Regions from separate parts of the Homo sapiens genome. Here region 2 is linked to region 1. Evidence: promoter capture Hi-C in 16 types of primary human blood cells and fetal thymus (Javierre and others, 2016). All regions are on one chromosome and are shown on one strand. Each heading gives the region's core, a stretch centred on a gene start or on the middle of the fragment in contact. The rest is flanking DNA. Distances are from core to core; before and after follow the strand shown. Region 1 holds the start of PPP1R3F (protein phosphatase 1 regulatory subunit 3F). Region 2 overlaps SUV39H1 (SUV39H1 histone lysine methyltransferase).

Evidence for each region. Contacts are between HindIII fragments. The CHiCAGO score rates a contact against its expected background, and 5 or more counts as called.
Region 2: a contact is called between a fragment that was not itself captured here and the fragment with the promoter of PPP1R3F in region 1, in 1 of 17 cell types (neutrophils). The highest score is 5.1, in neutrophils.

What each region holds. Positions count from the first base shown.
Region 1 is chrX:49,268,260-49,274,023 of GRCh38, reverse strand. PPP1R3F (protein phosphatase 1 regulatory subunit 3F) reads right to left here and starts at 4,231. Exons shown (of 4, transcript NM_033215.5): 1 at 3,151-4,231. The coding sequence starts at 4,154. RefSeq lists a silencer at 3,956-4,195 and enhancers at 4,896-4,945, 4,643-5,142. The HindIII fragment of the contact is 7,823 bases long and covers 118-5,764 here.
Region 2 is chrX:48,701,536-48,707,385 of GRCh38, reverse strand. SUV39H1 (SUV39H1 histone lysine methyltransferase) reads right to left here. Exons shown (of 6, transcript NM_003173.4): 4 at 975-1,121; 5 at 759-888. Among named protein-coding and RNA genes, the nearest start is that of SUV39H1, 7.7 kb to the right of the region's middle. The HindIII fragment of the contact is 1,018 bases long and covers 1,874-2,891 here.

The DNA.
Region 1 (5,764 bases), core at 2,982-5,481:
ACAAGCCCTGTGACATCTTAGGACCACTCTGCATCTCTTTCCCTGCTGGAACCTAGCACTGTGCCCAGCACACAGTAGGCAGTCAATAAATGCTTGTCGATGAATCATCTCTAAGCTTTAGAGTTACCAAATGCCTGGTCCAGCAACCCAGGGAAAGCAGCCATTTGGGTTTCTGAACTCTATCCTGATGGCTACCACGGACTTCTCCCATGCCCTCACCTGATGTGGCTGTGCTCAGTGCACAGAGGGCCTACAGCCAACATTTCCTCAACAGGAAGCCCTCTGATAGGGCTCCCACAGGTAAGGGATATACCCTGAGATCCTCCGCCATTTCCCAAGAGGGCTAGGTCACAAAGGGTGGCTAGTCTTCAACAGTGCTGCAAGTCACTGGCAGCACACAGGTTCTAAAACAATAATATGTTGAAATGTACTCACCAAGAAAGCCACCGACCTACAAAGAAACCCTTATCGCTGATCTTGCAATGAGCACCAACCTCCCCTTTGCAAGAGCTGAGATCGAAAGATAAAGAAGCTATCAAAAAGCCATCTGCCCACTTAAAATAATATCACAAGTCATGTTAGGAACCACAGACCTGGGGCCAGATACCAAAACAATTGTCTGAACAGGCTGCTTCAATTTCTCCTTAAAACCGCCCATGTATGTTAAAAGAAAAACACCCTCTCCACCCACCTTGGCCCTGCAAGGTTTTGATTTCTCTGTTCTCTGCCTTTCACACTCTTTAAAATGACCAAACTCCTTTACCCAAACTGTCGCATCTTACAGACAGGGTTCCCATGACAGCCGGCGGGGATGACAGCTTGGGAAAGTGATAGAAATGAAGGTAGCTCTGGGGTACTGGACCTGCTCAGTATCTTCATCTGGGTGGTGGCTACACAAGTGCATACATATGTACAAATCCACTGGGCTATACACAGAATATCAGTACACTTTATGTAGGTATACCTCGATAAAGCAAAAAAAAAAAAAAAGGTAAAAGGAAAGCACGACATGCTGGGAACACCAAGAGTGAAATCCAGAATTTGCCCTGAATCATGCCACGCTTTCTAGAGGACCAGTTTAAAAAAAAAAAATAGAAAAAAATAAATGTCCCTAGCATTTCTTCCCTGGCCCTGTCACTCACTAGCTGAGAGGCTTTGAGCAAGCTGGCTCATCTCTCTGAGCTACCTGTCTCCCCTCTACTAAATGGGGATAATCATAGCACCTACACAACACAGCATGCACAGCAGGCCTCACGGAGAGAATGGATCTGATGTTCATAGCACAGAAATCAGTAAATGCTGGCCAGTTATCTTTTGCAGTTACCACCATGCTTCAGTTACCTTGCCCATGTTTGCTGCATTCAATCCAACCATGCAAAGTGACTGTCATTTCCCTTAGCAGAGAAGGAAACGGAGGCAAGGCCACACAGCTGATGGGCGGAGCCGAATTTAGGAGAGGAATCCAGGAAACTGTAGGTGTGGCTCCCTAAATACTGACACTAGCTAACACCTGTATGATACTACTTTGAGCCAGACTCGGTTCTGAGCACCTTTACTCTTATCCCGTAAAGTAGATGCTATAATTCTGTTTTACAGGTGAGGGTCCTGAGGCATGGTGTAGTTAAATGCGTTGGCCAAGGTCACAAGGCCAGTAAGTGGCAGCGCCAGGATTTGAACCCAGGCAATCTATGCCAGAATCCACACTCTTAATGCTGTAAGAAAAACCATGCTGCCTGCCCCCTTTAAATGAAGTCTCAGATTATGGTGGGGCTCACAGGTGGGTGAGTGGGTACCTGCCTGCCTGCTCAGTTACCCAGGCACATCTGCCCACCAGACCGGAGCTAGACCTTTCTGAACCACTCACAGCCTAAGGCCTTACCAGAACCAGCAGAACCCACAAATGTCTTACTGCAGCCAGGGGCTTCTGACCAAGCGTATACATACAAGGTCCAAAAAGCATTTTCCCATTTCCATTCCCAGTCCTCCCAGGAACAGGGAAATGTATACATTTTAGGGAGAATCTAGTGATCCTGGGCCAGACTTAGGTGACCGCAAAAAGAATCAGGACTAGCTGCTGCCCTTAAAGAACTCATAGCTTGATAGAGGAAACCTAGGGAAATCTTCTGGGGCCCCCTGGGGTATAACTGATTATTTCTCCCTGTCCCTAAATGATCACAGGTGGTGTGGCAAAAAAACAAGGGACAAAAACTTCAAGTCCAGTACCCATCTGGTTCTGTCTCTCTGCTAGAGCCACTGCTTTCTTGTGAGAGCATGGGCTCAGCCCCTCGCCTCCACAGGACTCAAAAGTAGATTACAGCGTTAACAGTAGAGTGCACAGGCTTCAAGGTCAGGCATGGGTGAACTGGAAGAGCCAGGTGCCATCACTGCCTCAACCAGTTTCTCCACCTCTGGAATCCTGGTTTCCTGCTCTGTCAGAAAGAGAATCTGCTCTACCCCCCACTGGCAAAGCCCTTGGTCCACACTATGTCATTGCAGTTCTCTCCACTCCAGCACACTGCTGATCATTCACACCAAGCTCATTTCCACCCCAGGACCTTTGCACTTGCTGTTTCCTCTACCTAGAACACCCTTGTTCCATATATGCACATAACTGTTATTCATCATCCAGGACTTAGTTTAAATGAAACCTCCTCAGAAAAGTCCTCCCTGTTCCTTTTCCTACAAACTCTCCCCCACCTCCCCACCGTATCTGCATAACTCTTCTTTATCATCATTCGGGACTCACCTCCTCAAAGGCCCTCCCTTTAACAGCATGTCTGACACAGTCATTCCCTCCCAATCTATCCCCTTACTCCCTTCAGCAGCTAACTTTGTCCCTATTTATCCTATCTGCTTGCTTGCTTGTTTTTTCAAACTGTCTCCCATAGGAGCCTGTATGAATCCTTGAGGGTAGGGTAGATGTCTGTCTTGTTCAGGGCTTTACAGTGGAACTCAATAAATGGAGGAATAAAACCCCAGTTAAAACAGTGCCTAGCACGTGTTTGACCTCCATCACTCTTTGACTGACTGACTCAATGCACCCTCCTCCCTGTCCTGGAGAGCAGGCCTGAGGGGTTCCTGGGCCGGAATGCTTGTCCTCCATCCCAGACACAGCCCTGCGTTGGCGGAGGTGGCGCTGGCTGACATTACCTGCGCCTCACCGGCTTCATGCAGCTCTTCAGCTGCCTGGCCTCAGCCTCCACGGGACCCTGGCACTCGGGCTGTGGCTCCAGCTGCGGCAGCTGCTGCTGCTGGGGCAGCCCTTCGGCATCAGTGGGTGTGGGAGCGGGTGCGATCCGGAGCAGGACTGTGTAGTTGCGGCCGTGGTTGTTGGCCCAGAAAGTGCCCTCAGGGGTCTCATAGCGCACCACGAAGTCGAGGCGCGCCCCATCGCCCGCGCCCTCAGCAAAGGGCAGCTGGAAGGCAAAGCGGTCGGTGCGGCCGCCGTCGTCGGGCGAGGAGGCGGATGCCTGGCCGGGACCCAGGCCGAGCCCCGGATCCAGGATGGGATCTCCTGCTCCTGTTCCTCCCGCTCCTGCCCACGGCGGGCTGCGCGGGACGTAGCGCGCTGGGTGGTCGCAAAAGGAAGCCCAGCCGTCGTGTGAGGCCCGCACGTGCACCGCCTTCTCGAAGGAGCGGTTCAGCACGCGTACCAACCCGCGCAGCACCGGCGGGCGGCCCCCAGGCACCCACACCCCGGCACCCCCGGGGACCGCTCCGGGAGGCGGCAGCAGCGCCTCCAGCTCCACCATGACGCGCCCCAAGCGCTCCAGACGGCCCGGCGCGGGCGGCAGCGAAAATGTGGGGACCAGGTAAAACCCCCCGCCAGCGGGGACGGGGCACAGCGGTGAGGGCTCGGGGCAAGCCTCCTCTTCCTCCTCCCCTTCATCCCCATCCTCGCCATCGTCGTCCTCGTCGGCCCCGCCGCCGCCGCCGCCATCTTGCCCGGCCGCCGCCGCCATCTTGCCCGCCCCGGGCCCGCCCCACGGCCGGTAGCGGCGCAACTGCGCCAGCGGCAGCCCCAAGGCCTCGTCGGCGAACAGCACCCTCCGCGGGGCCACCGCCGCCTCGACCGAGGTGCGGGGCTCACCCGCGGCCGGCGAGGGGGGCGCGGAATGCCGCAGCGGGGGCTCCACAGGGGCCGTACGCGCCATATCGGCGGCGGCGGCGGCACCGACGGCACCGGCGGCGGGACCGGCGGGGGCAGGGCCTGAAGGGGCGGGCAGCCAATGGGAAGGCCAGCGCGGAGGGGTACGGCTCACGGGGGCATAGGCGGTGAGATGAAGACAAGTATTGCAGAGGGCCAATGGGCAGCCATGCACGGATGACGTACAGCGAATTGAGAGCCGGAGAAGCACGCAGCCAATGGGGATGCCCGGGAGTGGGCGGTGTAGGGGGCGGGATGATCGAGGAATCAATGGAGAGGCCGGAATGGGGGTGGTGCGAAATCCATGATGAAGAAAACAGAAGCAGACAGCTAATGCGGAAGTCTGAGCGAGAGAGGCATGTGGGCGGTGGGAAAAGTGGAATGGCTACAGGCGATGAGGGCAGCCGGGAACGAACGCAGAGGCCCAAAAAGTGGGAGATCCCGCGGGTTGCGTAGGCGGTGGAACGGTAGCTAGAGAGAGAGAACAGCCAATGGAGAGCCACGCGTGGGATGACGACAATGGCTGCAGCGAGCCAATGGGGAGGCTTGTGAGCGTGCACTGCGGCTTCGAAGGGGTGGTGCCAAGGTGGAGCTAGCCAATACGAAGGCTAAAAGGAGACCAAGAGGCGGGTGTGTAGGGAGCCGAGCCAATGGAGGTGGAGGCTGAAGGCGGGAGCGAGGACGAGAGCTGGCGGATAGCCAATGAGGGAGCCAGGGTGAAGGCGTAGAGACCTCAAAGGACAGTACTAGTATGGGATGAGCCAATGCCGAGGCTAGATAGTGCAGCGGGACGGAGGGAGGACTTGGAGGCAAGATGGGGAAAAAAGCAGAGCCGACGGGGGCAGTGTAGGTGGTGTGAAGGGAGGCATGAGTAGCCAATAAGGAGGCTGGAGAGGAGGACGCTGTGTAGACAGAGTCTGAGGTATTGGGTGGCCGGACAGCAGAACCATAGAACGCAGGCAGCCATTAGGAAAAATGTGCTTCTCAGGGATGGGGTTACCCTCTCCCTAACCCTCCGTGACTCCCCATTGCCCCAGGAATACCCAGAGCCCCTGAAGGCCTAGACCACACCTTGGTGTGTGAACTAGGAAAGTGAAAATGACTGTCCTGTTGCAGTTAGTTACTTACTGGGTCCTCCCTGCCCAACTACAACCTTTTCTTGAGCAGTGCCACAAGCCAAGAATGCCCCTGATTGTTAGCCGCAAGCACTCTCCAGGACTTGATACTATTGTTGAATGAATGGCCGAATAGGAAATTTAACTTTCTGAAGGATTCACTTTTTTAAATTTCAGCTCAGCAAACACTGACCTGACTGTGTGCTACCAGAAGTTGATTGGGCATATGGGTAGCTTCTGACTAATGGAATCACAATCAAAGCCCTGTCCTTCTTGCCCAACCTGACACTCCACACCCCACAGGGGCCTCACCTCCCTTCTTTCTGTCCCCCCATCTCTGCTTCTACTGTTCCCTCTCCCAAGAGTGCTGTTCCTTCTGCTGCTTCCATCTAGTAAACTCCTTTCGCTCTCCCTTTGGGGTCTCACCTTCTGTGGGAACTCAACTGCAGCTTTTGTCCGCTGAACACATCCATTCATACATTCCTTCTCCATCCTGGGAAGA
Region 2 (5,850 bases), core at 1,133-3,632, 560 kb after region 1:
GGGAGAAGGAGGGAGGGAGGAAGGTAGGGAAGGAGGCAGGGGACTTGTTAGAAGGCCTGGATGAAGGGTCCCACTACCCTTTATACCATGAGACCAAGGATCTTTGGGGCTGGGAGCAACTCTGGGATTTGAGTTGGGAGATCTTAGGGTTGGTGGTTTGGGGCTAGGGCCAGGGCTCAGCACTGGAGGTTGTTCAGGCCAGGGGTTGAAGAATGCTGGGGGAGGCAGGGAGCCGTCAAGGAACCAGGAGGGTCGTTTTAGGTGTGTGGGGGGGGGCAGGGGCAGGAATAGAGGGCCACCTGGGCATCCAGAGGTACATCTGAACTCTCCTGCCAAAGACCTGCCCTTGAGGGTCTCAGAGGTGGCTAGCTTATCAAGGAGGGGACTGGCTGGAGGCCACAAGGGTGTCCAGAGGCTTGGGATGAAGAAGGCCAAAGGGAGCTAGGAGTGGGGAGGGGCTGGGGGATGAGGGAAACTCAGTCAAGACTGGAGTCAGGAGTTTCTTAACTCTCCAGGAATCTTGGGAGAAGTTGGTATGAATGCCTCAGGGTTAGGGTTCAGGGGCTGGGAATGAGGGGACTCGAGGGGTAGGCAGGGGTCTAGTAGTCCGAATGGGGGACTGGGAGTCAGGAAGAGCATCTTAAAGCTCCCGCTAAAGAATTTTCCTTGGTTCTCTGAGTGACTGGTGTGCCTTTGGGAGGGGTCCTTGTGTCCCAAGTCACAGTGCGCCCCTGCCCCCAGTCCCTTGCCACCCCCACCTTGCATGTTGTAATCAAAGGTGAGCTCCTCGCCTGCCCGGATGGTTCTTGTGGCAAAGAAAGCGATGCGGGGCAGCCGCTCGTCAAGGTTGTCTATGAAGACGTTGTACACCTGCAGGTTGGGGTCACACTGGGCGAGAAAGAACAGTTGGGAGAGTGAGGAGGGGCTCCAGCCTGCCCCTCTCGACCCCTTGCCCGCCTGCCGGGGGTACCCACACTGTGGTTGACAAAGTGGGAGATGTTGCCATAGTAGGCGGCATCCACGGTGTACACGTCCTCCACGTAGTCCAGGTCAAAGAGGTAGGTGGCGCCCTGACGGTCGTAGATCTGGCCCCGCCGCTCTGCCTCCTCTGAGGTAATGATCTAGGGAAAGGGCCATGGGTAAGGGGAGATTGGCCGCGAAGTCTCAGGAAAGCCGGCACTGCTCCTGACTTCTGAAGGACAGGGAGCAGGAGGCACCCCTGCCCGTGGACACACATGGGCAGTGACGCAGAGAGTCTGTCGGCCCTTCCTGAGGAGCTGGGCCTCAGCTGGCAACTGCCTGGCCCGCCTCAGGCCTCTGGCTAGCAGGAGGAGTCCCTGGCGGTGAGTGCAGGCTGGCCTGGCTGCAGGGCCCAACTGGGGCCACGCGAGCACCTCCTGCCGCCACCCAGCAAGAGCTGCCCAAGAACCCCTGGAGCCTCCAGTGCCTTGGGACGGAGCAGGAAGGTGATCAGGAGAGACCAAAGCAAGGGCAAGAAAGAAAGTGACCCAGGGTGCCACAGGGAGAGATACTTACTGATCCAGGCAAGGGAGCCTGAGCCCATGCAGGACCCAGCAGGGAGGGCGTGGAGAGAGGGGAAGAAGAGACCCAGGCCATGGGGAAAGGGGGCAAGGGCCTCAAGACAAGAGAGGTGGAGGCAGAGGCAGAGGGAGGCCCAGGTTCAGAGAGCCAGAAAGAGGCTGAGGCCACACACTTCAGAGACAGCAGCAGAGGAGGAGGAAAGATGAAGGGAGAGCACAGTGAGAGAAGCTCTCCCTCGGCCCAGGGCTGCGCAGTGCCAACTGGTGCTTCAGACGGCAGTGGGTGCCTCCTCCCCAGCTGGTTCCCTACCTGTCCTAGGAAATGGGAAGCTTTGCTGCCATCCTAGCCCCAGCCTGTCCTTGCCTCCCAATCCACGCCAACAAATCTCCGGCCCCATGGCCCCTCTTCCCTGAGGCCAGCAACGGCAGCCTCCTGCCAATCCCCAAGCGTAGCTGACCAGGCCCTTCCCTGGGTAGGGGTCCCACTGTACCTCAGCCAAGAACAGTGCACAGCACACAGGAGACACATGGGGACTGCTGTTTACTTTGATTCTGCTTCCTGGCTTAGCAGCCTGTCCTCTGTCCAAGTGGCGGCCCTCCAGGTAGCTCCAGTACTCCCCCGCCACACTTCTTCCTTCCCCTCCCTTCTCCAGAGACCCCTCTCGGGCTTCCTTCCTTGCTCACCCTCATGTGGGCCGGTGACCATGCCCTTCTGACTTGGGAATCCATCTCCTTAGCTAGGATGGCCACACTGGTGTTCTCCCTGGCTGTCCCCTCAAGGCTGTGTTCCATGCCAAAGGCTGACTAACAATGCCTTGAGGAAACCAAGATTTACCCTGCCTCGGGCCACACTACCCACTGCCCCGTGCTCCAGTTCTGTTCCTTGAGGAACCTGGCTCCCTTGCCAGGGTTTTTATTGAGGCCTTCCTTGTGCCCAGTCCCAGCATGCAGGGCTCACGGTCTGATCAGGGAGACACAGGGACCAGGCCCGGTCCACTCTCAGGGGTCACAGGTGGGTAGGGGATACACAGGAACCAGGATTGGTCCCTGCCCTCAAGGGGTCAAAGTCTGGTCACAGAGAGACAGATTCACACACCCACAGTGTAAGACTGTGATCAGGAAACAGTGCTTAGGGCTTGAGGGGGAATGGAGAAGAGACGGATTCTCTAAAACGAGTTGCAGATCATAAAAGGGCTTTACCACCTGGTGGAAGAGTGGGGACTCTCTCCTAAGGGCCACAACATGAGGGTGGAATATGTCAAGATCAGTCTCCCTTCACCTCCTGGAGAACAGTCTTCCTTGTGGCATCAGCTCAAACAGATGGGACCTCTCTAGGCAGCCTTCCAAGCTTCCCGTTCCTCCCCTACCTCAGAAGCTGGCCACTTGTCTGATCAAGTCCTGGGATCAAAGGGCAGCCTCTCCCAGGCTCACAGGCCTAGTGGGTGGGGTATGAGCCATCTTTTTCACCGTAGGCCCTCCTTGAGCCAGGAGGAGTGCCCACATCCTTCCTAGTCTCCATCTTCATGCCTATTCTGCCACTACCTGCTCTCCCAGTCTCACCAGGAGTGAGTCATACTGCAGGCCCTCCAGGGCACAAACACTTCTTGGTTCCTTCTCATCTTCTTTTCAGTCCCATTCTCTAATGATTGGTCAACCCTGAAAGCTTGGGAACAGATGGGCCTGTCTCTGCTCCCTAACAGCTCTCCAGAATGAATGGAAAAGACAGGCTGTAAGCTGGCAGTTCCGAGAGGGTGCTGACGTGAATGGGAACTAGAAGACTTGGAGTCAGCTGCTGCTCTGCCCCCTCCTGGATATGGGATCCTGAATGTTCTCTCTGTGCCTGTTTCCTCAGCTAAAAAAAAAAAAAAAAAGCTACAGCCTGGCAGGGTACCAGTTTTAGATATTATTTGGGCCTTTATTTTTTTATCCATTGTACTACTTTTGTGATTTTAATCAAGTTATTCTACCTCTCTGGGCCTCAGTTTTCTCATCTGCAGAATGGGAATGACAGTGACAAAATCCCAACCTGACAGGGGCTGTTGTAAAGATCCATACAAGATCATGGACGTGAAAGGTGTTCCTGTTTCTGATAGGAGAGTGAGCAATGTTAGGAGTGGTTATGAGGACCAGTTATAAATGTAAGGCACACCCTTAATTTTATGTGCCCTTTACCAAGAAAGGAAAAACTGCTGTTAATTATAAATGATACACCATGATTTAATTAAGACATCTTCATTTCCGAGATGTTAAAATAGGAAGAAAATGCATGTTTTAGAATGGATAAAATAGGCTGGCATTGTCTCTTGGGTGAGGATGGGAATGTTCTGCAGGAACGTGAAAGTTCTGACCCAATGTGGGAGGCTGCAAAGGAGGGAAGGGCAGCTCCCGTGGAGGGAGCTCTTGGTACAGACTGTCAGTACATGTCCCAGCTGAAGAAGGACAGTAGATAGCATGGTGTGCAGATAGGCCCTTGATTCCGTAACACCCTGGCAGCATCTGGGACGGCACTACAGAATCAAGTAAATTAGAACTGCTGCAACGAAATGTATGACTATTACCCCAAGTAGGATAAATAAAAACTACAAATAGGACCCTATCCGGTCAGGCTGGGTCCTGTAGCCAGATGGGTTACAAAAAAACTTGGTCTTCCAGACATTTTGGATTTGCTGAAGTTTGAACTATGCTGATAACATTTGTATCAAACTTACTGTGTACTGAACACTGTTCAAGTGCTTTTTCCAAGTGCTTGATACATAGTAACTCATTTAATTTTTGTAACAAGCCTGTGAGGTGAGTGCTATTATTGTTCCCATTTTACATAGTAAATGCAGGCACAGAGGTTAGTGATTGCTGATGAGTAGTGGAGCTGGGATTCAGCCTCGGGCAGTCAGGATCCAGAGTCCACCCTCCTAACCATTTGCTATACTGTCTCTTCAGAGGGGAATGCGGGAAGATGAGTTTGGCTCTTTCCGGAGGCCTGTGGCACCATCAGGAGGACCCATGGGTCTGAGGGTGCTGGAGGGCGGTCAGGAAATAGTGCAGCAAGAATGTGTGGAGAGCAGGAAGGGTGAGGACAGGGCTGAGAGGATCCCTGGGAGGATTAAAGACACTGACACTAAGGAAGAGCAGCCAGAAAAGTCTCAGGCCCAGGAGGGTCTGAGGCTGCCCTTGGGGTGTAGTCTTCCTCCTCGACTGTCAGGACCCTGTGTGGTAGACAGTGTTTCCTCCAGATGCCAGTACAGTGAGGCTGAGATACTTCCTGCTCTGTGCAGCCCCTAGGACGGTGGACTGTCTGGGTCCTATGGGGTCTGGACATCTCCTCCAGAGAGTTTGGGTTCCTTCAACCTCTGGACACTTCCTCCAGAGCGTCAGGACATTGAGGGCATGGACACTTCCCCCGATACTGTCAGGGTGCCCTTGGGTGTAGACTAGATCTCCAGGCTGTCCGGATCCCTCTGGGGTGAGGACACTTCTTTTTCCTGTCATGACAACATGGGTGTGAACACTTCCTAAGTCAGACCACCAGGTCCTCTAGAGTGTGGAGAGCACAAGCTCTTCCTCCAGGTCACTGGGGTCACTGTGGGACATGGACTTCCTGCAGATTATCAGGACTCCTTCCCCCGCCCACTGTCAGGAGCCCTCAGGGTGTGGACACCTCCCCACCTCCTCCTTCCAGATGGCCAGGTCCTGTGGCATGTAGACATCTCCTCCAGCAGGCCAGCAGGGTTATCTGGACAGGGTGTGGCTGTCTCCTTGCCCAGACTGTCAGGGTCCTCTGTGGTGTAGATTGTTCTACCCAAGATTGTCTCTGTCCCTGTCAGATGTGACCCTCTGTACAGTTTCTCAGAGTAGGAGCCTCTCCTTGTCATCAGTATCAGTGCTACAGTGTGGACACCCTCATGTGAGTGTTCCTCAGGCCAGTTTCTGTCACTTTCCAACTATATCACACCCCTAAGGGACCTATGGCTATATATAGAGGTATCTGGGGTTGTCACTATGACAGGGCACACTCATGGATTTAAATGGTCAAGGTCCAGGGATGCTAAATGTCCCCCAATGCATGAGACAGTTCTACATAACGAAAAATCATCTCATCCCAAATGCTAACTGCATCCCATCTTAGAATGCGACATTTTTCTGTTGTAGATACTTGCTAGTTATCTAGTTGCTAGTTATGGCTGTGCTTTAGCCTTGTGCAGCTGGGCACATGGCTAAAGCACATCCTGTTGCCTCTCTTGCATGGAGGTAAGGCCAGTGACTCAGTTCCAGCCAGTGGAGCATGGGCAGAAGTGATGGGTGCTGCATCTAG